Linked DNA regions of Homo sapiens: all the other regions are linked to region 2. Evidence: promoter capture Hi-C in 16 types of primary human blood cells and fetal thymus (Javierre and others, 2016). All regions are on one chromosome and are shown on one strand. The core of a region is centred on a gene start or on the middle of the fragment in contact, and the rest is flanking DNA. Distances in the headings are between cores, read along the strand shown. Region 1 has its middle 33 kb from the start of RBM11. Region 2 holds the start of USP25 (ubiquitin specific peptidase 25). Region 3 holds the start of LIPI (lipase I). Region 4 has its middle 19 kb from the start of HSPA13. Region 5 holds the start of BTG3 (BTG anti-proliferation factor 3). Region 6 has its middle 17 kb from the start of HSPA13. Region 7 overlaps RBM11 (RNA binding motif protein 11).

What was found. Contacts are between HindIII fragments. The CHiCAGO score rates a contact against its expected background, and 5 or more counts as called.
Region 1: a fragment that was not itself captured here is called in contact with the fragment with the promoter of USP25 in region 2 in 1 of 17 cell types (M0 macrophages); the score reaches 5.9 in M0 macrophages.
Region 3: a contact is called between the fragment with the promoter of LIPI here and the fragment with the promoter of USP25 in region 2, in 6 of 17 cell types (activated CD4 T cells, naive CD4 T cells, total B cells and 3 more). The highest score is 9.7, in activated CD4 T cells.
Region 4: a fragment that was not itself captured here is called in contact with the fragment with the promoter of USP25 in region 2 in 1 of 17 cell types (monocytes); the score reaches 7.0 in monocytes.
Region 5: the fragment with the promoter of BTG3 here is called in contact with the fragment with the promoter of USP25 in region 2 in 1 of 17 cell types (non-activated CD4 T cells); the score reaches 7.5 in non-activated CD4 T cells.
Region 6: a contact is called between a fragment that was not itself captured here and the fragment with the promoter of USP25 in region 2, in 2 of 17 cell types (M2 macrophages and total B cells). The highest score is 6.1, in M2 macrophages.
Region 7: a contact is called between a fragment that was not itself captured here and the fragment with the promoter of USP25 in region 2, in 1 of 17 cell types (naive B cells). The highest score is 5.1, in naive B cells.

The regions. Positions count from the first base shown.
Region 1 is chr21:14,247,090-14,250,991 of GRCh38, forward strand. No RefSeq gene overlaps it. Among named protein-coding and RNA genes, the nearest start is that of RBM11, 33 kb to the left of the region's middle. The HindIII fragment of the contact is 4,134 bases long and covers 312-3,902 here.
Region 2 is chr21:15,728,318-15,731,968 of GRCh38, forward strand. It overlaps USP25 (ubiquitin specific peptidase 25), which reads left to right and starts at 1,665. Exons shown (of 26, transcript NM_001283041.3): 1 at 1,665-2,121. The coding sequence starts at 2,077. RefSeq lists a silencer at 1,270-2,229. The HindIII fragment of the contact is 4,884 bases long and covers 673-3,651 here.
Region 3 is chr21:14,209,345-14,212,746 of GRCh38, forward strand. It overlaps LIPI (lipase I), which reads right to left and starts at 1,611. Exons shown (of 10, transcript NM_001302998.2): 1 at 1,456-1,611. The coding sequence starts at 1,501. The HindIII fragment of the contact is 13,443 bases long and covers 1-3,402 here.
Region 4 is chr21:14,362,818-14,366,434 of GRCh38, forward strand. No RefSeq gene overlaps it. Among named protein-coding and RNA genes, the nearest start is that of HSPA13, 19 kb to the right of the region's middle. The HindIII fragment of the contact is 1,543 bases long and covers 906-2,448 here.
Region 5 is chr21:17,611,450-17,614,805 of GRCh38, forward strand. It overlaps BTG3 (BTG anti-proliferation factor 3), which reads right to left and starts at 1,452. Exons shown (of 5, transcript NM_006806.5): 1 at 1,250-1,452. BTG3-AS1 (BTG3 antisense RNA 1) reads left to right here and starts at 237. Exons shown (of 1, transcript NR_149073.1): 1 at 237-2,665. It also overlaps a transcript of CXADR not described here. The HindIII fragment of the contact is 7,083 bases long and covers 1-2,232 here.
Region 6 is chr21:14,397,998-14,401,606 of GRCh38, forward strand. No RefSeq gene overlaps it. Among named protein-coding and RNA genes, the nearest start is that of HSPA13, 17 kb to the left of the region's middle. The HindIII fragment of the contact is 7,464 bases long and covers 1-3,609 here.
Region 7 is chr21:14,227,558-14,230,954 of GRCh38, forward strand. It overlaps RBM11 (RNA binding motif protein 11), which reads left to right. Exons shown (of 5, transcript NM_144770.5): 5 at 1-815. Among named protein-coding and RNA genes, the nearest start is that of RBM11, 13 kb to the left of the region's middle. The HindIII fragment of the contact is 4,077 bases long and covers 1-3,397 here.

The DNA.
Region 1 (3,902 bases), core at 1,129-3,628, 1.5 Mb before region 2:
CTTTATTTTCAGAAATTTGAATATTTTTCACCTCTGTGTGTAATACTATATTAGACATCTTTGTGCAAATTGTTGATTTGTGTATGTATTACATAACAACATACATCTCCAAGAGTTAATGGATGCAGAAGGATTCATTTTAGTACTCCTAGTATATTATTTGAAAGTGGTTAGCTGGTTAGCTTTGATCTAAAGAGTTATGATTATGATGAGTGCTGGAGAGATAAAATACTTATTTTTCCCTCTATAATTCAGTATTGTTTGAACTTTTAAATAAGAACCATCATATATGAGTCAGTTATGTAACTAAAAGCTTTCAGTTTTGAAAATAGCAAGTAATATTAACCAGTGATTCACAAAAGAAAAAAAAACTATCAATGGATATATAAGAAAAAATGTCCCAAAGATGAAGTCTGAAGCCAGTATGAATATTCTTTTATTCTTTGTATCAAATTAATTATTCTACCTTCATAATTTTAGAATTTTTCTCAATACTTGTATTAGTTTGTCCTCGCACTGCTATAAATAAGTATCCAAAACTGAGTAATTTATAAAGAAAAGAGGTTTAATTGGTTAATGGTTCCAAAGGCTGTAGAGAAAGCAGGATGCTGGCATCTGCTCAGCTTCTGGGGAGGCCTTAGGAAACTTACAATCATGGCAGAAGGTGAAGCAGGAGCGTCACATGGCAGGAGCAGGAGGAAGAGAGAGAGAGTGGGGAGGCTCTACACACTTTTCAACAACTAGATCTCCTGAGAACTCACTATAGAATACCAAGGGACGGTGGTGCTAAACCATTAAGAAGAAATCACACGCTCATGATCCAATCACCTCCCGCCAGGCCCCACCTCCAACAGTGGGGATTACAATTCAACCTGAGATTTGGATAGGGACACAGACCCAAACCCTATCAATACTATTGCCATCTTATTTATAGAATATTTAAAATGTGACATTCTTCTCATTGATTTTACCTGAAATACACTTCATTCTTCTAAATTGGCCTTTTTTTCCACTTATGGGATATACAAGAACACTCTTTTTCTCATCCATCTCTTTTTAAATTACATCTTATTCACTTTCATACCAACCTGTTCTTTCTTTGTAGTCTTCTTCTCATATTTAATTAATGTTGAAGCATCTTGTGTCCTGAAGAGAATAATAAACATGCTCATTACTACATTTCTTAAAGTAAGTATTTTTGGAATTTGCCTCTTCTCCGAAATATCATGATTTGTTCTCTGTTGCTGTATAATACATTTTAATATTCCCTCTTTTATAAGTACACTCATTCCTAAATGAGGAGAACTCTCCCAGCTGCAGTGTTAACCCAATTACATGAAGTGAGGAATGAGTTTATGTCCATTGAGTTTCAACTGGGGTACAAATCTTATTCTTACCTGGAATCAGAGGGCTATGGGTGGACCATGGGCTGAGTTCATATGCTCTTTCATTGCTATGAAGGCTTTTATCTGTTTGGGTTCTGCAGAAATTAAATGAGCTCTTTCTATGTTCACCTCTGGCTTTTTAACATTCCTACCAGATAATGCACATGGATCTGTAAAATCCCCAGTGTGCACCATGAGAGAAGGTCTTCCTGACCCCCTCCCTGTTTCTCATGCTTGTTGTAGACATTACATCTTGCAGAAAATAGTAATCTGCCACCACCAGTTTACTTTCAGATGGCCCTTGGTTCCATCCCATTTGTATGATAGGAATTTTGGTCTCTAATGTAATGTAGAAAAAGTTCACTTAAAATTTAGATGTTGACATGACAAAGTAGCATCGAGGCAGTAGATCAATGGCTGTCAAGGTTACTATTCAATAAAGATATTTGCATTTAGAAACAGGAAGAAAGTCGCAGAGAATCAAGAAAGGATGGCTGTTGTGGGAAGTCAGGGACCCCAAACAGGGGGACGGGCTGGAGCTGTGGCAGAGGAAACATAAATTGTGAAGATTTCATGGACGTTTATCATTTCTCTAATAATACTCTTATAATTTCTTACGCCTCTTACTTTAATCTCTTAATCCTGTTATCTTCGTAACAGGTCACCTCAGGACCCTGTGATGATTGCTTGTTTACTTTTGGGATAATTTGAAAACAAAATCAGTCTTTGTATGGTATTTTTCCCCCACCTGCTTGGTTTGATTTTTGTTTATTTTATATCTCATGAACAAAAGTGTTATTTAATAACTTCTTGCCATTTTAAGAACATGACTGTAATTAATTTGCTTCACTCAGCTTCTAAGATAACCACTAGTATAAACAGAATAAAATAAAACTCACAAATTGTACAAACTGATTGTAAAACATGTGTGTTTGAACAATATGAAATCTGATTGTAAAACATGTGTGTCTGAACAATATAAAATCAGTGCACCTTGAAAAAGAACAGAATAACAGTGATTTTAGGGAACAAGGGAAGATAACCATAAGGTCTGACTGCCTGCCGGGTCAGGTAAAAAGAGCCATATTTTTCTTCTTGCAGAGAGCCTATAAACAGACGTGAAAGTAAGAGAGATATCGCTAAATTCTTCTCCTAGCAAGGAATATTAAATATTAAGACCCTAAGAAAATAATTGCATTCCTTGTGGAAGGTCTATAAACGGCTGCTCTGGGACTGTCTGTCCTATGTGGTTGAGATAAGGACTGAGATATGCCCTGGTCTCCTGCAGTACCCTCAGGGTTATTAGGGTGGGGAAAAAAAATCCCGCCCTGGTAAATTTGAGGTCAGACCACTTCTCTGCTCTTGAACCCTGTTTTCTGTTGTTATGATGTTTATCAAGACAATACATTCACAGCTGAACATAGACCCTCATCAGTAATTCTAATTTTGCCCTTTGCTTTGTGATCTTGTTTTTACCCTTTGCCTTGTGATCTTTGCTGGACCCTTATCAGGAGTTCCTGATTTTGTCCTTGCCCTATTTCCTCGGAAGCATGTGATCTTTGCTCTGCCTTTTGCCCTTTGAAGCATGTGATCTTTGTGACCTACTCCCTGTTCGTACACTCCCTCCCCTTTTGGAATCCCTAATAAAAACTTGCTGGTGTTGCGGCTCAGGTGGCCATCACAGACCTACCAATGTGTGATGTCACCCCTGGTGGCCCAGCTGTAAAATTCCTCTCTCTGTACTGTTTCTCTTTATTTCTCAGGCCAGCTGACACTTAGGGGAAATAGAAAGAACCTATGTTGAAATATTGGGGGCAGGTTCCCCTATAGATGGCTTGCTGTTTCCCACAGCTGAACTCATTGGCCACTTACTTCCATCAGCCAGGCAGTCTCCAGAAAATTCTCCCAGACCCAGGCAAGATACTACCATGGCTGTTGTGAGTTTTATTTTCTTCTGTTTCTACTAGTGGTTATCTTAGAAGCTGAGTGAAGCAAATTAATTACAGTCATGTTCTTAAAATGACAAGAAGTTATTAAATAACACTTTTATTCATGAGATATAAAATAGACAAAAATCAAACCAAGCAGGTGGGGTAAAAATACCATACAAAGACTGATTTTGGTTTCCAATGATCTCAAAAGTAAATTTAAAGTACTGATATTTTCTGTAATTTTCATTTTTTTAACTAGGAAAATCATATAAAGACATGCTAGGACAATTCATTTAAACATAAAAAATAAACATTTCATAAAAATCACATCAGTGCTGATGACTTAATGGCAGCCTAATATCCTGAAAGTAAACTAATCTGTCACCATAGCTTTTTTTTTTTTTTTTTGAGACAATCTCCTCTGTTACCCAGGCCGGAGTGGTGCAATCTTGGCTCACTGCAACCTCTGCCTCCTGGGTTCAAGCGATTCTCCTGCCTCAGCCTCCTGAGTAGCTGAGATTACAGGCATGCACCATGAAGACTGGCTAATTTTTGTATTTTTAGTAGAGACGGGGTTTAACCATGT
Region 2 (3,651 bases), core at 415-2,914:
TATTTGATGATTATCTATTGTAAGATCATCTTTTTTTTTCTGTATGGAAGTAACAAATTTAACTCAGAGAAAAGTTGTATTGCCAAATTCTTGAAATTAAACCTTAGTATCTGGCAACATTTTTCCTCCCATGGTACTAGATTACTAGATTTTTATGTTAAATTTAATTTTCTTGAATTCAAATGTATGAGCTTGATTTCTAAAAAACAAACAAACAAACCAAAAAACCAAAACCCTCATATGGAGAAACATGAAGTTAGCATATAAACAAGAAAAGAAGAAACTTTGATCTATAAATGAAGAAAAATGGGTTTTGATAAGCTCTCTTTGACAGGTCACCCTCCTTGGGCTTCAGAGTTATAAAAAAATCGATACGTGAGATTAGAGATGTGACAGTATTTCTAAATTTCTGTTTCCAACCGTTTCATGACTTTTCATTTCCTCTAGAAAAGACATAGGATATTAATATAATAAGATTTGCAATTTGTTAAATATCAAATGAGTCAACAAATATGAAGCTTCAAGGAAAAGGTGACAACAGGTGGTACCAGACATCTGAGCTGCAGAACAAAGATGGTTGTAAAGTGCACAGAACTGTTACAAAGCCTTAAGAGCTACTATAATCCATGATTATTAAATAACACCACATACTATTTCAATTAGCATTTGCCAAGCTTGCTTTCCTTGTCATTGGATTAAAAATTATACCCGGATTTTCAAGTGTATTCTATTTGTGACAATATGCATTGATAATTTCTCTCCTCACACTGCTGCACTCTCACCTCCGTTCCCAGATTAGCTCCTGGAACTCGAGATATTTTTGTGGCTAGAGATTGCTTTCTTAATGTTAGATTTTCCTTACAATTCCATATATAGTCAAGCATTCCATGCATGGTAGTTAATTGTTTGCTTAATTTGGCAACTGGGATATTAGAATTATGTATCATTAGGCAGTGATATTTTTGTAAGGTTGTTTGCTAGATAGATCCTATTTCATTTATATTAAGTCTTGGGAAGATAAACTTTATTTTTCCAGAGCCTAGCAGTGACTGACACATATTCGAATGAATGAAGGTAGATAGAAAATGTCTATATTCATTTACGTAATGATTAGTTAAGGAGAAAAGTACTTCCCAGCATAAAGATTTCTGGCAACCCTTTGCTTATTTGACTTTTCCCTTCAGGCAAGTTCAAGGCTTGTGAAATTCCTAGAAAGGCGAGGGGAGAGAACGCGTGACACAGAAAGGGGCCGGAGTTCGGGACCCTACGCAGTTTTGGGACGTTATGGGCATGGAGGGAAATGTTTGCTTTGGAGGCTTTGGGTAAGCTAGGGATCCGACAAGCCCTGGGCGCAGGGAGGAACGCTGCCCTCCGGCCTCCAGTCGCGCTCCCCGAAGCCCAGCGCCAGCGTCGCGCAACCTGCCGCAGGGGCGGCTCCCGGGCCAGGCAGCCAGGCGCGCCCTCGCCCCACCCGGGAACGCCAGGCCCGCGCAGGGAGGGGCGGGGCTCCATGGCGGCCCCGCCCCGCCGCCCGGAGGGTCACAATGTAGGGTTAGGGCGGCCGGCGGGCGGGGCTCTGCGGGGGAGGAGCCGCCGGGCGGGGGCGGGGATGGCGCGTGGGGGAGGGGAGGGAGGAGGACTCGCGGAGGGAGGAGGACAACGCCATTCCGGGCGGCCGCTCCCTCCGTCCCCTCTCTCCCTTCCCCAAAGCAGCCCGCGGACCGGCAGCAAAGGAACGTGCGAACGCGTGACGCCGCCCGACTGGCTCGCGCTCTCCCGTGCCCCGGCGTCCTCCGCCCGCTCATGGCCCGGGCCGCCGCGGACGAGCGGCGCTGAGGCGGGCCGCGTGGAGACGTGAGGCGGCCGCCGTGGCCCTCACAGTCGGCGTTTCGCCGCCTGCCCGCGGTGCCCGCGCACGCCGGCCGCCATCGCCTTCGCGCCTGGCTGGCGGGGGCGCTGTCCTCCCAGGCCGTCCGCGCCGCTCCCTGGAGCTCGGCGGAGCGCGGCAGCCAGGGCCGGCGGAGGCGCGAGGAGCCGGGCGCCACCGCCGCCGCCGCCGCCGCCGCCGCGGGGGCCATGACCGTGGAGCAGAACGTGCTGCAGCAGAGCGCGGCGCAGAAGGTGAGGCGAGTCCGCCAGCCGGCGGGCCCCACTTCTCCTTCCGACGGGCTGTCCTCTCCCGCTGCGGCCGGGCGCCCCGGCCTCGCCGCCGCCGCCTTCCCGGGCTTCCTCCCCGGTCACCCCCGGCCCCTGCCCATCGCCTCGGGGGCGTCGCGCCCAGAGCCCAGCTGCGTGTGGGAAGCAGAGTGTAGTTTGCGGGCTTCAATCCACTTCCTTCTGCCGATTGTTTTCCCGTAGCAGACGGTGCCAGGTATTGAGAGCGACCCTCACATTCCTACAGTGCTCTGTGTGGCATCTTAATGAAACTTTATTCTCTCCCCTTAAATGAGAAAGAATAGCTAGTTGTCATCCTTTCTGAACCGATTTTGTCTTTCAAAGGTAGTAGTGTACCAGGCCTGCTATTTTGCAAAACGGTCTCCACCAAAATCGAATTACCTGCCTCGCGGGGCAGGCGTGTTGACCAGGTGGACTCTAGAAGTAGGTGGTTTGCTTGGTTTCTTTTCCTTTTAAGGTTTCCCTTTCTTCTTCTTCTTTTCTGTTTTTTTTTTTTTTTTTTTTTTTTTCAATATAGAAACTGTCCCTAAGAGAGGAAACCTTTCTGGCCATGTTATTCCAGGAATCTTTTGTCCCCTAAGTTTGACCTTGTTCTTTCGTTCACCCTTTACTCTTGCATCAGTCACACATTCAAATGGTCACTCACTAAAGAAAACAATTAAAAAACTGTTTGTGAAACTTTATATCTTTAAAGTGAATAGAGATCATTCTGCTATTTTAGATTTTGCTTTCAGAATCTTAAGTGCACTATCATGGCTTGCACCATGTTCTGAAGAGTAGTTGGCCATGATTTAACTTCTTTTTTTAATTTTTAATTTGCGTGAAAAGCATTTTGGGCAAAAGAGTAAACCGTGCCTTAGTTGTGTTGGTATTACGGGGACAGTTAGGGTTTACTGTGATCAACCACCAGAGTTATGTTTGGTTTATCTGGGTGAGTAATGAATGCCCCACCCTGTTGTAGATTTGGTGTAGATTGCAATATTCTACCTGTGCTTGACTTTAGAATAAGACCTGTTCTAAAATGGGCTGTCTACATACAGCCTGCTAAATTTTTGCTTTGAGATTATTTTTAGAATTTTATGATACTGCTTTAAAGTAATCGAAGATACTCAAGTTTGGAAAGCAAGGATAGTGCATTGTTATTTTAGGCACGTTGGGAAAGTTGTTTTTGAGACTTGTATGTTAGTTGATATTATTGGTAAAGTTAGAAGGATATTGCACACTGCACTTTATTTACAGTGAAATAATTCAAGATTTAATAATGAGAATTTAAAAGAGTTTCCTTCCTAATCCTCCCTATTCTATTTTGAATACCTTCAAGTTCAATTTTTAAAGACTTAAGGCTTAGGAAAGAGCACATGGTCATGTGAACGCTAAGCAATATTTAATATGTATGGTACCATTTGTTTATAATTGTCTTCAGTGTTGAATATTAAAGTCTGTTTCAAAGTGAGAAATACCAATTTTTCACTTCCT
Region 3 (3,402 bases), core at 361-2,860, 1.5 Mb before region 2:
ATGAAACATGCCCTCCTTGAGGTATATATCAGAATCTCTAGTGGAGAAGAAAGGAGCATGTGTAATAAATAAAACACACTTGTATGAAATAAACTACTGGAAATCAACAAAATTTTTTAATCAAGTAGAGATTCAAGGAAAATGAGAGAATGCATAGAGTCTACATGGGTTAAAAATGAATTTGAGGATCAGTAAAATTTGTAATTCACTTATTTTCTATTTACTACTGTTAATATCTAAAAGTTCTACTATTGTATTTTAATCATCATTACACAAGAATTAGCAGACAGAAACATACAAAGCAATTATGTTTGAATTTTCCCAACTGAAAATTTAGGCAACTGACTAAATAAATACTAATCAAAACAATAATATCAGAAAGTCTGTCAAATAAGTTTTTAATGTAAACTATGATATTAAAATGATTATAACTGTATTAAAAATGACACATAAGATTAGGGGCCTAGACTTCAAATTTCTCTGGCTTTCAACTGAAGGTGCCACTATTTTACATTATAATAACATAAAATCCCTATCAAGAAACTTAAGAGTAATAATATAAATTATAAACTACATATCAGTATCATTTAGTTTCTATATTTAAATATAAAATTCAAACATTTCCAGAATTTATGGTTATCTCAAATAGCCAATTGAAAACATAAGAAATAATGGTAATTTCTAGTTAATTTTAAAGTTATTCAAGTATGCATTAACAAATTTCAAATAAATTTAAAACATAAAGGAAATAATCTGCTCTCATAAAACCCCTACAGAAAACTATCATCTTGAATTTTAAATTTGCCACTGTTATTACCATAAAGTAGAACTAATTGTTCTACTTATAAGTCGAACAAGTAATTCTACTTTCTCATAAAGTAGAAAACGATACTCTTAATATTGATAAACTTTATTACTGTACGCCAATAAACCAGAATAAAGTTCTACCTTATTACCATAAACCAGCTTTGTTTTTCGTCATACTGAATGAGAGCAAAAGTTGTAGTATCTGGTTATTTTGTTTGTTTTGCAATCGATAATTTATCCAAGTAAGAATTTTCTTCAAAAGTAGAGCTAGTTAAACAAATAAAATTGAAACAAGATATTTAAGGCATAATTTTAAATACCAAATTAATTTCTCCATTACTGAATTTTTTTCTCTTGAGTATTTCTATTTATTCTCTAGTTACATCTTTTTTTAAAAAAAGGTTTTCTAGTTACTAATTATCTGGCAAGGAAATAAAATGCAAAATGTCAACTTATTAAACAAACACATGCACACACACACGTACACACACAGAAGTTTTCTTAATAGTAATGTTTGTTATAATTAGTACCAATAATCTAACATATTTTTATCCCATTATATCATAACATTCTTTATCCCAGAATACAGACCACACTATTTTATATGCAATTTTTAAAGATAAATCAAATTATTAATTAATATCTTACCAGATCTCACCCAGCACATCAAACAAAGAAAAATGTATACTCTCATTTGGAATCTGAGAAAAGCAAAAACAGCACTCAATTCACCAAAAAGGAAATTCCGTAACTCATTGAGGTTTCTCTTTGGTAGGATCATCACAGGCTGGCAGGTTCTTCTGTAAAAGTTCACTGATTTTTGCTCCTCCCTCTTGGTTGAAAAGGTGAGGTAGTTTGTTTTCTCCCACTTTAGCTTGTGGTTGTGGGAAGGATTTTTAAGTCACAGGCTCTGTAATAAGTCACAAACAAACCTTCAGCTACACAAGTTGAATTTAAGGGAATGATAAATCTAATTACATCTTTCTGTATTCCTTTTAACCTCAGGATTTCAGAAGCGGTCAGGAAAATATGCAAATGTGATGTTAGAAAATGCTAGAAATGGAAAGAGTCAGAAAAAGTTGTGGTTTATATTCACTTTGACTACAAACTAAGATATCTTTATATACCATAAATCAATAATGAAAGCCATATCCATTAAGCTCTTTCAAGTATAAAAGATGAGCTTTTCATATTTATGTTATTTTACATCCCCAAAGCAGGGGCTATTTTAACATTCAAAATTTTGGCTCATCACTTGAGGCTAAAAGGTGAAAATTATAAAAAAAAAAGTATTTAATATGATGACCATTTTAAAATTAGCATACATTTTCTTTTTACATGTTTACTTAATTATCTTCTTTTCTTAGCAATGGACTTTAGTAAGCAAGAAAAATTGGGAGTTGTTCTAAGTACATAAATTGAAAGTTTAAAAATTAATTCATTTTTAAAAAATTCAAGTTTCTCTAAAGTTCCAAAAATACAGTAAGAACAGAAGTGTTTTTTGTATGTTATAAATCTGCAGAAACTAATCTGAGGTCTGGGGAAGTATTTGAGAAAATTCACAAACAAAATGAAGTATTAGTTTAAAAAAATCACAAACATTTAACTGCTGAGGAAGTTCCATCATTATTTTGAACTGTCTGATCTCTGGGTGTTTTACATGAGATTTCCATTTTTTAAAAAATACCACCACTACAATTTGTTTGAAGACCAAAAATAATCTAGGTCCTTCCACAGCACTTAGCTGTAAGAACTGCACCTCTCTAACAAAGATATAAATAAGCCACATCATTTCAGAATATGGGAAGAAAGATAATGTGTCATACATCCTAGAACAAATTTTTCCTAACAAATTTTACTTAATAAATTAAAATACAAATCTTTCCTCCTTCACTTATAATTTCCTTTTCTCTTTGTGCTTTCAATGTGGCATTATAATATGACTCTTGCACATTTACTTTCATCTTTATGAGTTCATACTGAAAAATACTGGCATATCAGGCAGTATAATATAGAGTTTCAAAATTAAAAATCATGCTTCTTCATTATCATGTATTTTGCCTACTGCCAATATGAGAAAGATGAGGTTATTAATGTTCATTGCATTAAATAGGAAAATATTGGGGGATGACAAAGTTACAAAATGCCAATAGTTTAGTAAGACAATCTATTTGAGCACTTGTTTAGTCCTCCTTGGATATAAAAAATGATTGTAAGTAGCTTACATACACACTTACAATGTAAACATTAACTCAAAGGGGATGTTCATGATGATGATGTGATGATGATGATGAAGATTTAAAATTTATTGAGCCCTATGTATCAGGCGTTCTTCAAGCACTTTACAAGTGAGTTAATTAGTGTTTGAGATGGAAAATCATTGTTTATCACAATATATTTTGTCACAACCTTTTATTAATTTGTCAATGTGTCAAAATGTTTAACAATCTTACCCTTTGACTCAGCAATTAAGCAACAAAGATACTTCCTACAGAAATCCAAGACACTTTCCTACAGACACATCCAAGGTCCTTTTATGTGGCAAATGGCCTACATGTGCACAAATATATGAGCAAAGACATTCATCTCACCATT
Region 4 (3,617 bases), core at 427-2,926, 1.4 Mb before region 2:
AACACTACAGTGCATTAGTATTTAAAAAGCAAAGACAGAAGAGAAATGCACAAGGGCAGGCCGCTGCTATGAGTTGGCACACACACTCATAGGCACCAGAGTTTCTTTGTTTGTTTGTTTGTTTTTGTTTGTTTATTTGTTCGAGATGGAGTTTTGCTCTTGTTGCCCATGCTGGAGTGCGATGGCTTGATCTCAGCTCACTGCAACCTCCGCCTCCCGGGTTCAAGCGATTCTCCTGCCTCAGCCTCCCGAGTAGCTGGGATTACAGGCACCTGCCACCATGCCCAGCTAATTTTTGTATTTTTAGTAGAGCTGGGGTTTGGCCATGTTGGCCAGGCTGGTCTCGAACTCCTGACCTCAGGTGATCTGCCCGCCTCGGCCTCCAAAAGTGCTGTGATTACAGGTGTGAGCCACGGCCCCCGGCCATCACCACAGTTTGTAACCATCCTGGGCTGTACCTAGATTTCCCTCTTCCGTTCGTGCTTACCTTGTTCACATTGGCCAAAATGCCAAATGCCACTTGTCCTTTAAGTCCCTGACTTCTCTTGGGAGTTCCCTTCTCAATGTGTCCCCCGATCTTCCCCTCTGCCCTCCAGTGTGATCTAGACGCCCCTTTTCTGTGCTTTCATTAGCCCCATGTGCATACCTTTATCATGGCAGGGCTCATACTCCATTTTAAAGTCTGCTTTCCCCTTGAAGGCAAGTGCCCAGTTTTAATCATCCTTGTATGTTATGTTCCTAGCATAGTTCCTTTCACATAACTGATGCCGAGCAAATGTTTGCAGAATGAATAGCTAGACATTTTAGAGTACTATAAGTACTTATTTATATATAAATGGATGTGGGCTGGGCACTGTGGCACACACTCATAATCCCAGCATTTAGGGAGGCCGAGGTGAAAGTAAAGCTTGAAGCCAGGAACTTGAGACCAGCGTGGGCAACAAAGCAAGATCCTGTCTCTACAAAAAGTAAGTAAATATAATGAAAAAAATGAGATGGGCATGATAGTGCATACCTGTAATCCCAGCTACTCAGGAGGCTGAGGTGGGAATATTGCTTGAGCCCAGGAGTTCAAGTTTGCAGTGAGGTATGATACACGATAGCACTCCAGCTTGGGTGACAGACACCCCATCTTTCAAAAAAAATGAAAACAAATAAGTTTTACAAATATATTTTGAGCTATTGTGTAATTTATGAAATGATGAAGAAATCACAGAAAAAAATAAGCTAGTCAGCTGCTTTTTGGAAAGAGTAATTATATATTAACAGAATTTTATAATTGTTTATAATGTTTTATATTTTTACTATTTACCTTTGAGTGAAGAAAAAACCTAATATTTTCTTTGGAACATTATTTTTTGGTTAATATATATACCTCAGTGAGATATTTTATTACATTTATGAGAGGATTGTTGATTTGTAGTCCTAATCAGATTTTGAAGGGCTTTTTCTTTAGTAGCTTTATTTAAAGGAAGCAACATTATGTCTCTGAATTGCCCTTCAAATTTAAAGTCTTTAAACTTCAATAGGATTTTCTTTCAAGAAGATATTAATAAAATAGTTTAACATGTTCTTTAAAGCCCATCAACCATTTCTTTTGTCCTCCTTTCTTCCTCTGTATGCAGCCCTGTACAACCTTGCTCTATTTCCTAAGGGTATTTATGAAAAGTTGCCTTAAACTAGAAAACTTGTATTATCTAAAGTCTCCTCCCTTAAGGATGTAAGCTACTTGAAGTGTTGTCCTGTCTTTACAATCCCTGAAGTGCTTTGTAAACATTGAATAAATAGCTGTTGAATTCTATTAAGAAAGGAATCAAAATATTTCATTCATATGAGTTAAAAGATGTTTTAGCTCCCTACTCCTATAATTTTAGTAAATCAGAGAAGCTGAATAATTTTAAAATCTAATGGGAAATCAACAGTAACCTGGATAAATTGTGGTATATTCACATAATAGAATACTATCTAGCTAATAGAATGAAGGTACAACAGCTACTGTGTACATTAGGCAATTTGATGAATCTCACAAAGAATGTTGAGTGAAATAGCCACAAAAGAATATTGCTATATGACTCCATGATTCTAATTATATAATTTTTTTAAAAGAAAAATTAATTTATACTATTAGAAGTTGGGATACTGGTTATCCTTGGTGGGGAGGGTTATAATAAGGTACACAAGGTAGACTTCTGGATTAATGGTAGCATTTTGTTTCTTGAAGTGAATCTGAGCACTCATTCAGTTTGTGAATGTTCATCAATCTGCATATTTAGAATACGGGTAGTTTTCTGCATATATATACAGATATACATTATCTTCATATGTAATACAGAGTAAAAGAAAAGCAAAAGTAAAAAACACAAAAAGTGACTAAATCAAAGTTATTCAAAGATAATTTTATTGTTTTAAGAAATTAATATTTTATTCTTATTTCAATTATGTACATAAAGCTTGATCAATTATTGATGTACACTAGAAGCAAAGTACAAAGCACTCAAAATGATTGGATTACAGAGAGGTAGCACGTTTGTAATAAAAAAGATTATTCCATGATTGTATGATTTGTTTAAAGATTATAACTTCAAAATAGATTCATAAAATAATGATAAATTTCAATAGACAAAATATTTACCATAGCTGATAGAGAAAAATCCTATGTAACATTAAGTTGCTTTCTTTGAGGATAATGAGAATGTTCATTATTGAAAGCCCACAATGTGCCAGGTAATGTGCAATATATTTGGAACATGTGTCACTTTCAATTCTCACTAAATAATATAAGAAAGGAATTATCTGCTCTATTTTACCAAATATGATATTAAGATTCCAAGAGGAGCTGGAATCTAGGTTTACGTGACTACATAGCTGATGATGCTCTTTCTACTTCTCTACCAAGATGTCTCATTCCAGAGGAAACACTAAAAAATAGTCTGTAGTTCGAAAAACTTCCAAAATCTTTTAAAAAACAGGATTTTAAACCAGTATCTTTGTAAGCATATTAAATAAAATCAAAGCTTGTGGTGGGGGTGGGATCCATGCCTCTTTAAATATAGCATTAGGTTGGACCATATAAAATAGTCATTTCTGTAGGTCAAAAAATGGCTGAGTAATGGCAATTTCATTTACTTCTAAACATAGCCTTGATACAGAAGGGTTTAGAAAACTTAATGTTGCATTTTAATATGCATATAAATAGTGAATAGTTCTACCTGATCTAAAGGGACTTTCTTTTAAAAGAAAATTTAAAAGCTAGAATGCAAAAACATAGTAAATAAGAGTTCAGGATCTCAAGACAGGATACCTATGTGAAATCCCAACTCAACCACTTAATAGTTGTATAAACTTGAGTAAGTTAACATATTTCTCTGTGTTTATTTGGGAGTCATAATTTTATTTACCTCCTAAGTATGCTTTGGAAATTAAATCATGGAATACATGTAATCACTTAAGACAGTGTCTAGCATATAAAAAACATTGAATAACATATTGGCTATTATTTAAACACCAACACTCATTGTTCCTTATAACCGTAGTCTCATATTTACAAAATCACATCATAGGACACACTTTTTTTTTTTTTGAGACAGAGTCTTGCTCTGCCGGCCAGACTGGAGTGC
Region 5 (3,356 bases), core at 202-2,701, 1.9 Mb after region 2:
AACACAAGATGACTCATTTGGACTTTTGTTTTCCCCGTTTGAAGAAATGATAGCTCGAACAGCTGAAAAATAAGCCCACTCCCACCAGTATTCTAGGAGTACCAAAAGGTGAAAGAGGGAGAGTTACAGTCAGGGCAAGAACCACCAGAGGCAAGCAGGGCCAAGAAGACCTCAGGCGTCTTGAGTAAGTAGGCGTCCTCCACCCACACTCAGAGCAAAAGGCTCCCATTTTAAATATCGCACGGTGACGTCATCCTGGGACCTCGTCACCGCGGCGGCTGCTCCTCAAGTTCTACTTTGTTCCACAAGGCTCCTCTGCTCACGGCTGCGTGGATAAAACCCAAAGGGAATCCAGAATCAAGCTCGGCCTCGCAGGAGTTTATAACTTTTGTACTTTTCCCTCCCTTGTAACGAAAAGCTAATCGCAAACGTTTCTAGGAACACATTTTTCTCCTGATAGACGTTCCCAAGGTGGAGGGCGCGAGAAGACTGGCCCGTGGGGTGAGGAGCCCCGGCCCGACCTCAGCGGCGCCACAAAGCCATGAAGAGGGGAAATAATTTTCCAAGGGGCTAAGAGTTGGACTTTCTGAAGCCATCGAAACCTGCTGCTAGGCTCTCCCGCTGGGGTTTTGAGAGAGGTAGGTGAGGAGGGATCAAACATCTCCACCCGCTCTTGAAAGAACCGCCTTGAGCTGCGCCCAACTTCTGCAATCCCGGTTTTCCCCAAGTTCAAGGGGAAGGGCCCTGGCGCCCAATGCCCAGCCTCCCCGACAACATCCTCGCCAGGGTGCGCCTGCCCCGCGGGTCCGCTGTCCCCGGCGGGCGGCCCTGGGTTCGAGGACCCGGCTTCCCGGAGGCGCGACTCTCCAGCAAACAAGCGGAGCTCCAGAAAAAACACCGACGCGAAGGGGGTGGACAGAGGGTGGGAAGCCGCGGGGTTGTCGCCCACCCGGAGGCGGAATGTAACGCGCTGTGGGAAACGTGGCAGGAGCCCTGAGGCGGCGTCTTTTTCCTCAGGCGCCCGCCGAGGGTCCCGCGGAAAGCCTCGCGGGCCGCCCTCGCGGCCCGCAGCCCCGCTCTGGCGCCGAGCCGGAGCCCATGCAACCTGGTTCCATCCCCTGCCCCTCCCCTGTCCCCGGTGCGCCGCCCGCCAGCGAGCCTTCGACGTGGCCGCAGGGGCGACGGGACCACCCTCCCCCGATACCCACAGCCCCGCCATGTCTGCCTTTCCCCGGCCCGGTCTCCTCACCGCCGCTGCCGCCGCCGCTCTTCGGCCGGAGATTCGGCGGCCCAGACCGTGTCCTGGCCGGGAACTGAGGGCTCCGCCTCAACGGGCCCGCGCTGGGCAACAGGGAGCGCAGCGAGCCTCGTCCGGCGCGTGCGGCTCCCGCGTCGTCGGGCGGCCAAGCGCGCGTTGAGAGGACTGGCGGGCGGACGAGCGCGCACACGAGTGAGCGCAGCCCCAAAGCGGCGCGCAGGGGGCTCGCGGCCCGGAAGAGGGGAGGGGCGATGACCCGGGAAAGGGTTGGCGCGCGCGGGATCGGCTCGCGCGCCTGAGGGGCGGTGCCGGGGGCGGGGCTTCGCCGCGAGGCCACCCCCGAGCCCCGGGCCTAGCCGCACGGGAGGCGACACACCCTCGCCCTACCCTGAGCCTGGCGCAGACCCTCGACCGCGACGGCGCGGTCCGCAGAACCGCGGGCTTCCCTCCCCGGCAAAAAGCGGCGCTGAAGGCCTGTGGGACCCCCGCCCGGCCGCCCTACGTGCGTCAGCGCCTTCGGGGGTCGCGCGGGCTTGGTCCTTTCGGCTGTCTCGGCCTTTTTGTTTCCCCCTCAGGTCTCTCCACGCTGCACTTGACACCCTCAGGGCGGAATGGCGAGTTCTAGACCCAGCTCTCTAGACCCGGGGCTTCATGGGGGACACGGACTCGACGGGAAGGGGAACTTGGCATTTATGGACAGATCCTCATCCTTCTTGCTGTAGTCAATTACACGCACGTTAACCGTGCAGCCGCCCTGCTGTATTTTAGGCGGTTGTTGGCACTCCTAGTTGGGCCCTTCCCTGGCCCCTCACAGCAGGGCCTGCCTCCTGTGGACGCTTGTGTGCTGCCCTGGCACCGGCCACTGTGTTTTGCATAAAGGAGAGGCTCCAAAGATGTTGGCCAAAGGAATGAAGCCTTGAGAGTCCAGGCTTTCTATTTCTGAGACACTCTACTCAAGGACTTCCCAGATGCAAAGCTTCATCTTTGAGCAAATACAAATATGGAGAGGGAACATTAACTTTCTGAAGAAAAGAAGGAACATCTTTTCAACCTTTTATATTGAGTTAACACCATGGTCTTAGTTTTGTGAAAGCACTTTAATACATCCAACTAGCGGGAGGAATACAAGATATTCCTACCTTTTTATTATTATTATTAAAAGAGGGCTAAACCATGTTGTAAACTACTTAAGAACTGAATGTTCAAGTTGTACAGTATATTGGCCAGATTCCTTACTGCCCACTAGGCTTGGGAGCATGTTTTCAGCTCAGTTTTATGAATGTTTTAAATTTGTATTACTGATCTTTGTTATAGCCAATTAGCAATTCAAAATGGTAATTTTTTTAGCAGTAATAAATATACCATCCCCCAAACAGTACAATAAACTTTATTTGTAAAAAAAAAAAATTATACTCTTCTAGGACTTAGTCTACTTACTGGTACATTTAAAGAGGATATTTACACCTTGGAGTCTTCTAGGAGGTGTGAAGGTGTTTTTATTTTAAAATCATAACAATCTGATGAGGTTATTTTTACAGATAAAGGCCTTTAATTCTGCAGTTTCATAAAATAGCTAGGTAACCACCCACATTACTCAAAATTTGTCCAGAAATTTCTATAGTTTAGGATTAGTATTTTGTGTAGTATTTATAAATCTGTGGTCCACATTTTCCAGTCTTAGAGCAGTACCATATTCAAAAAATACAGGCAAGAACCTGAAACCCAATTTCAAAATGACTTTTAAAAAATTCTCAGGCTGGGCACTGTAGCTCATGCCTGTAATCCAGTACTTTGGGAGGTCAAGGAGAGAGGATCATTTGACTCCAGGAGTTCAAGACCAACCTGGCCAACATCATGAAACCCAATCTCTACAAAAAATACACAAATTAGCCAGGTGTGGTTGCATGCAGCTGTAGTCTCAGATACTCTGAAGGCTGGGGTGAGAGGATCACCTGAGCCCAGGAAATTGAGGCTGCAGTGAGCTATGATAACATCATGGCACTCCAGCCTGGGTGACAGAGCAAGACTCTGTCTAAAAAAAGAAAAAAAAATTCTCATAGCTGAACACTGTGAAATAGACACATAGCAAACAATGTCT
Region 6 (3,609 bases), core at 966-3,465, 1.3 Mb before region 2:
GCTGCTGTCCTCTGCCAAGATCAGTGACAACGTGTGTGAGCTGCAACTGCACATGAATGTTACCAACCTTCTGAGACTTAAAATTTTCACCTTCTAAATCTTAGACAAATTTCTTTTGTAGTAATGTTATTTCGAAATCACGCTGAGAAAGCACTTCTGGGCCATGTAATTCCAAATTAGTTATATTGACAAAGTGGCAAGGTATCCACACTTTATAGATTTCTGTGACTTTTTCTCTCAATATTTACATTGCAAGTTGTTTTTTGTAGCTATATGTCTTTAATTTTCATTAGTCTATTATAGTCCATTATGTGAAAAATCTCAAATGTATTTTTCCATTATCTTGTTTATGGACATTTCAATTGCTTTTAGTGTTTTGCTATTATGAAGAATGCTACTGTGGATATTCTTCTATATTTCTCGTGATGTAATTGTGCAAGCATTTCTCTACGGCTTAGAAATAGGAGAACTGATGTCCAACTTTACAAAATGGTACCAAATTGTTTTCCAAAGTTCTTTTTATGAAATTTATACTTCCACCAATGCCATGTAGACTTTTTATTGATACATAATAATTGTAAATGTTTATGGAGTACTTGTGATATTTTGATGCGTGCAATGTTTGATGATCAAACCAGGGTTTCTAGGCTATCCATCACCTCAACCATTTATCATTTCTTTATGTTCGGAACATTTCAAATCTTCCCCTCTAGCTATTTTGAAATACACATTAGATTACTATTAATTGTAGTCAGTCAACTGTGCTATCAAACACTAGAATTTATTCCTTCTATCCCATGTTTGTACCCATTAACCAACCTCTCTTCATCCCCATTCCCTTCCCAGCCTCTAGTAACCATCATTCTACTCTCTACCTCCATAAGAGGTAGCTCCCACAGATGAGTGCTAACAGTGATATGTGTCTTTCTGTGCCTGGTTTATTTCACATAACATAACGACCTCCAGTTCCATTGATGTTGCTGCAAATAGGATTTTATTTTTTATGGCTGAATAGTATTCCATTCATCCTGTACAATTGGGAAACTATTTGCAAATTATTCATTGAACAATGTACTAATATCCAGAATATGTAAGTAACTCAAACAGCTCAATGACAAAAAAACAAATAATCCCATCAAAAAGTGGGCAAAGGATCTTAATAGACATTTCTTAAAAGAAGACATACAAATGACAACAGGTATATGAAAAAATACTCAACATCACTAATCATCAGGGAAATGCAAATAAAAGACAATGAGATATCATCTCACCTCTGGTAAAATGGCCGTTATTAGAAAGACAAAAAATGACAAGTGCTGGTGAAGATGAGGAGAAGGTGGAACTTTTATACACTGTTGGTGGAAATATAAATTAGTATAACCATTATGGAAAACAGTATGAAAGATTCTCAAAAAACTAAAAAAAGAACTATTGTATGCTCCAGCAATTCCACTAGTGGGTACTTATCCAGCAGACAGGAAATCAGTCATCAAAAGAATACCTGCACCCCCATGTTTTATATTGGCACTATTCACAATAGCCACATAGACTTTTAATTGAGCTACATACTTGCCAACACTTAGCATTTATCATGCTGGTCAATATTTTCTAGTCTGATGAAAGTAAAATGACATCTGTTTGTGATATTTATTTGCATTTTTCTAATTGTTAATGAAATTAAATAATTTTTCATAAGTTTACTCTCCATTTTTTATTTTCTATAAATGCTTGTTCATGTAAATTTTCTCATTTTTCTAATTTTTTTCTTTCCAATTTTAGGAATTCTTTATATATTTTGGTTACTAATGTTTTACAAGTTATACATGTTGCAAATGTCTCTATGGCTTATTTTTAAATATCTTTGTAATATCTTTAAATGACATAAGTTTTTAATTATATAATGTGGTCAATTTTATGATTAGTACCTTTTGTATCATTTAAAATCTCCTAACCTACCCTGAGTCATTAATACATTCTTCTATTTTATCTTTTTTAACTTTCATATTTGGGCCTTTAATCAACCTGGAACTGATTTGTGCATGTAGTGTGCTGTAAGGATCCTATTTTTCCCCCATATTTATAACTATGAGCCAACACTATTAGTGAATAGTCTAATTTCTGCAATGTTTTGCATGGCTATCTCTATCACATATTAAATTTTAATACTCACAAGTCTGTTTTTGAGCTCTCTATTTTGTTTTACTGGCCAATTGATCTAATACTGTTTTAATTATTATATTTTTATAATAGTTTATGCTGTTAATCAGGACAAAGATCTTCACTTTTTCTCTCTTCTTCATGAGTGTGTTGACTATTTTTCTTCCTTTTATTATTTATGTCAGTTTTAGAAAAAAATTTTTAAGATGATTCAACTTGATTCTGAGCAACCAACCTGGCTTTATATTAAGCCTGTCGTAGGCCCCTGGCTACATCTGTGATTTTCGAGTTTATCTTCGCTGTTTCATTACTGGCCCAGGATTTGGAGTGATGATCTTGGCATTTGCTCCAAAGGCATCACTGTCTCTTGGAGATTCTTTTGTTTTTTCTTTTTGAGTTTTAGCAAACTTATTTTATTTTTTGTCCCTTACAGGTTTGCCTGAAATTCTCAGTAGCCCAGCATGCAATAAAAACAATGTTTCATGGAAGCTCTTTTTTTTTCCCTAGTGAGAGGGAGCTTTGCATATGTAATATACAATTCTAGAAGTTCTCCAGATTTCTTATGTTGTAAACTTAAAACTCTGAGCCAAAAATATCATATTTTGAATTAACTGTTGACCTCAGAAATGACAATTTTTACTTGTGAGTTAGGGTAGGTGAAAGTGACTGAACACCTTAACTTCTGTCATTTCCTCTCTACTGTACATTATTGCAGAACTGGAAAGAACTTTACAGCTAAATAGTGAACAGCCCTTAACTTTCTTTCTCTCTTATTTAGAAGCTATAAACCAGAGATGATTTGTTTTCCAGATAAGGATATACTAATCAATAGTAGTGAAAAGCCATGCCAAAATGAGAGAGGCAGCCTAGTAAAATCTCTATGTCAGTTATTTATGTCAAGAGCATTTAAAAAGTAGGCCAGAATGTAGAGTAGCTTGAATTATATCCTTCAAACAAAGAAGTAATTAAAACAAACAAATATAAAACAAAAACCTAGCAGGAGGATTATCATGTTGTTAACTATTATTCAATGTCAGGCTTCATAATGACTCTAGGATACTGAGAATGAATTTTGAAATTATTAATTGAAACTCTGCCATTTGAATTTCTAGCAAGATCTTTCTATCAATACTTATCATTTTCACCATAGTAGTCCACTAACATTTTGGCATGCAATCGTTTGGATGTAGTTTGAAGTGGCCTTCAATGTTGACATTTAGCTTCTTAAGAATGAAACAGGGACAGGTGTCCTCACCAGATAGGCCAGGTGGGATCATGCAAAAAGCAGAATCTTTGGAGCCAGACAGACCTGCCTTCACATGCCAATACACAATCTGAGAGAACATTCTCCAGGTCTTGTGAGCCTCAGGCAACTCAGCTACAAAAATTGGGATCACAATCCCTTCTTTGCAGGGCTGTTGCAAGAATGACATAAGAGAAAACCTTTTTTAT
Region 7 (3,397 bases), core at 691-3,190, 1.5 Mb before region 2:
ATGATGAAATTTCACCAAACTATTAATCAAAAGTCACTTATTGAACACATTGATAAAGCATCATGTTCCCTTTGATTATCCCCTATAACCAACACTCAACTACAAATAGGCTGGGATTCAATGTGGAGTGGTGGATTTCCTGAAAGAAAGTAGTGCAGATATTTAAGGATTGCATATTGTTCCTAATGAGGATGTAATAAACAGGCATTAGTACCCCTTTCTTTTAGTACCTAAATATGTTGTTTCTGAGCCATATTCTTCTTCAGGTTTATTTTATAAAGTGAGGACATATGATAATGATACCAAAGGAAAGATAATTATCATGAAACCAACTTTTGGATCATTCCCTTTTTATACAATTGTGTATTTATAGGGATACCTTCCTCTTCTCACATATTAATTGTATGTCATTAAAATCAGTTGGCTATGTCAGTGTGTATTATTCACCTCTTTTGCTAGCAAGGTTTGAGATGCTATATTAACATTTAAATCATGAAAATGAGCAAGTAAATAGAATAATATTTTATTAATGTATGATATGTAATACTTATTGTCTAAATCAAGTTTCCTATTTTTGGTTTATTTATTTTAGAAGAAAAATAAAATTATTTGGGCATTTTTGTTTATAGCTCATTACAAACTAGAGTGATGAATATATATATTTACTAAAGCTAATTGAAAGAGTCATGCAACTCAGTTGGGAATTAACCACTCAATTCAATAGTAAAAGCCATGCTTGGATGTTTCTTTTGCATGTTGCCTAGCATTTTATAGATATTTATTATTTAAAAAAATAAAGATATGTTTTTAATGAAGAGAGTAACTGAATTTTAATCTTGGTTACAAATATATAATATAGTGAAGTTTGAAACATAAATATTAGTTTATTTCTATCTAATCAAAATGAAAAACTAAATTTTGCTTTATGTAGCTGATATGGTTTGGGTCTGTGTCCCCACCCAAATCTGACCTTGAGTTGTAATCCCCATTATTCCCACATGTCAAGGGCAGGACCAGGTAGAGGTAATTGGATCATGGGGGCAGTTTCCCCCATGCTGTTCTTGCGATAATGAGTGAGTCTCATGAGATCTCATGGTTTCATAAGCATCTGGCATTTCCCCTGCTGGCACTCACTTCATCCTGCTGCCTTGTGAAGAAGGTGCCTGCTTCTCCTTTGCCTTCTACCATGATTATATGTTTCCTGAAGGCCTCCCCAGCAGTGCAGAATTGTGAGTCAATTAAACCTATTTCCTTTGTTAATTACCCAGTATCAGGTATTTATTCATACCAAATACAGTTATTTGGTACCAGGAGTGGGACACTGCTGTAAGGTTCCCAGAAAATGGGGAAGAGACTTTGGAACTGGGTAACAGGCAGAGGTTGAAACAGTTTGAAAGGCTCAGAAGAAGACAGGAAAATGTGGGAAAGTTTGGAACTCCTTAGAGACTTGGAGGGCTCAGGAGACAGGAAGATGTGGGAAGGTTTGGAGCTTCATAGAGACTTGTGGCATAGCTTTGATCACAATGCTGATAGTGATATGGACAATGAAGTGCAGGCTGAGGTGGTCTCAGGCGGAGATGAGGAACTTGTTGGAAACTGGAGTAAAGGTCACTCTTCTTGTGCTGTAGCAAAGAGACTGGTGACGTTTTGTCCATGTCCTCTATAGATAGAGATCTGTGGAATTTTGAACTTGAGAGAGATGACTTATAGTATCTGGTGGAAGAAATTTCTAAGCAGTAAAGCATTCTAAGAGGTGACTTGGGTGCTCTTAAAAGCATTCAGTTTTATGCATTCACAAAGATATGGTTTGGAATTGTTTAAAAGGGAAGCAGAGCATAACAGTTTGGAACATTTGCAGCCTGAGGATGAGACAGAAAAGAAAAACCCATTTCTGAAGAGAAATTCAAGTCAACTGCACAAATTTGCATAAGTAATGAGCCAAATGTTAATCACCATGACAATGGGAAAATGTCTGCAAGGATGTCAGAGGTCTTTATGGCAGCCCCTCCCATCAAAGGCCCAGAGGCCTAGGAGGAAAAAATGGTTTCATGGGCCAGGTCCAGGGCCTTGCTGCTTTGTGCAGTTTCAGGACTTGGTGCCCTGCATTCCAGCTGTGGTTAAAAGGGACAAACATACAGCTCAGGCCATTGCTTCAGAGGCTGCAAGACCCAAGGCCTGGCAGCTTCCATGTGTTGTTGAGCGTGTGGGTGCACAGAAGTCAAGAATTGAGGTGTGGGGACCTCCTCCTAGATTTCAGAGGATGTGTGGAAACACCTGGATGTCCAGGCAGAAGTTTACTGCAGGGGCAGAGCCCTCATGGAGAATCTCTGCTAGGGCACTGCAGAAGGGAAATGTGGGGTTGGAGCCCCACAAAAGTCTTCACTGGGACCTTGCCTAGTGGAACTATGGAAGAGGGCTACTGTCCTTCAAACCCCAGAATGGTAGGTCCACCGACAGCTTGCACCATGCACCTGAAAAGCTGCAGACACTCAACACCAGCCTGTGAAAGCAGCCAGGAGGGGGGCTGTATCCTGAAAAGCCACAGGGGCAGAGCTGCCCAAGGCCATGGGAGCCCACCTCTTGCATCAGCATGACTTGGATGTGAGACTTGGAGTCAAAGCAGATCATTTTGGAACTTTAAGGTTTAATGACTGCCCCTATTGGATTTCAGACCTGCATGGGTCCTGTAGCCTCTTTATTTTGGCCAATTTCTCTCATTTGGAATGGGCATATTTACCCAATGCCTGTATCCTCATTGTATCTAGGAAGTAACTAAGTTGCTTTTGATTTTACAGGCTCATAGGTGAAAGGGTCTTGCTTTGTCTCAGATGAGACTTTGGACTTGGACTTTGGGTTAATGCTGGAATGAGTTAAGACTTTGGGGGACTGTTGGAAGGGCATGGTTGTGTTCTGAAATGTGAGGATGTGAAATTTGGGAGGTCCAAGGGCGGAATGATATGGTCTGGGTCTGTGTCCCCATCCAAATCTCACCTTGAATTGTAATCCCCATTATCCCCACATATCAAGGGCAGGACCAGGTGGAGGTAATTGGATCATGGGGATGGTTTCCCCCATGCTGTTCTCATGATAATGAGTGAGTCTCAGGAGATCTGATGGTTTTTTAAGCGTCTGGCATTTCCCTGCTGGTATTCACTTCATCCTGCTGCCTTGTGAAGAAGGTGCCTGCTTCTTCTTTGCCTTCCACCATGATCATAAGTTTCCTGAGGCCTCCCCAGCAGGGCAGAACTGTGAGTCAATTAAACCTCTTTCTTTTATAAATTACCCAGTCTCAGGCATTTCTTCATAGCAGCATAAGAACAGACTAATACAGTAGCTTTATCTATAATTCATGTTTTTGAAAATTTAAACTGGAAAATACAAGATTTTTTTCTTTTAA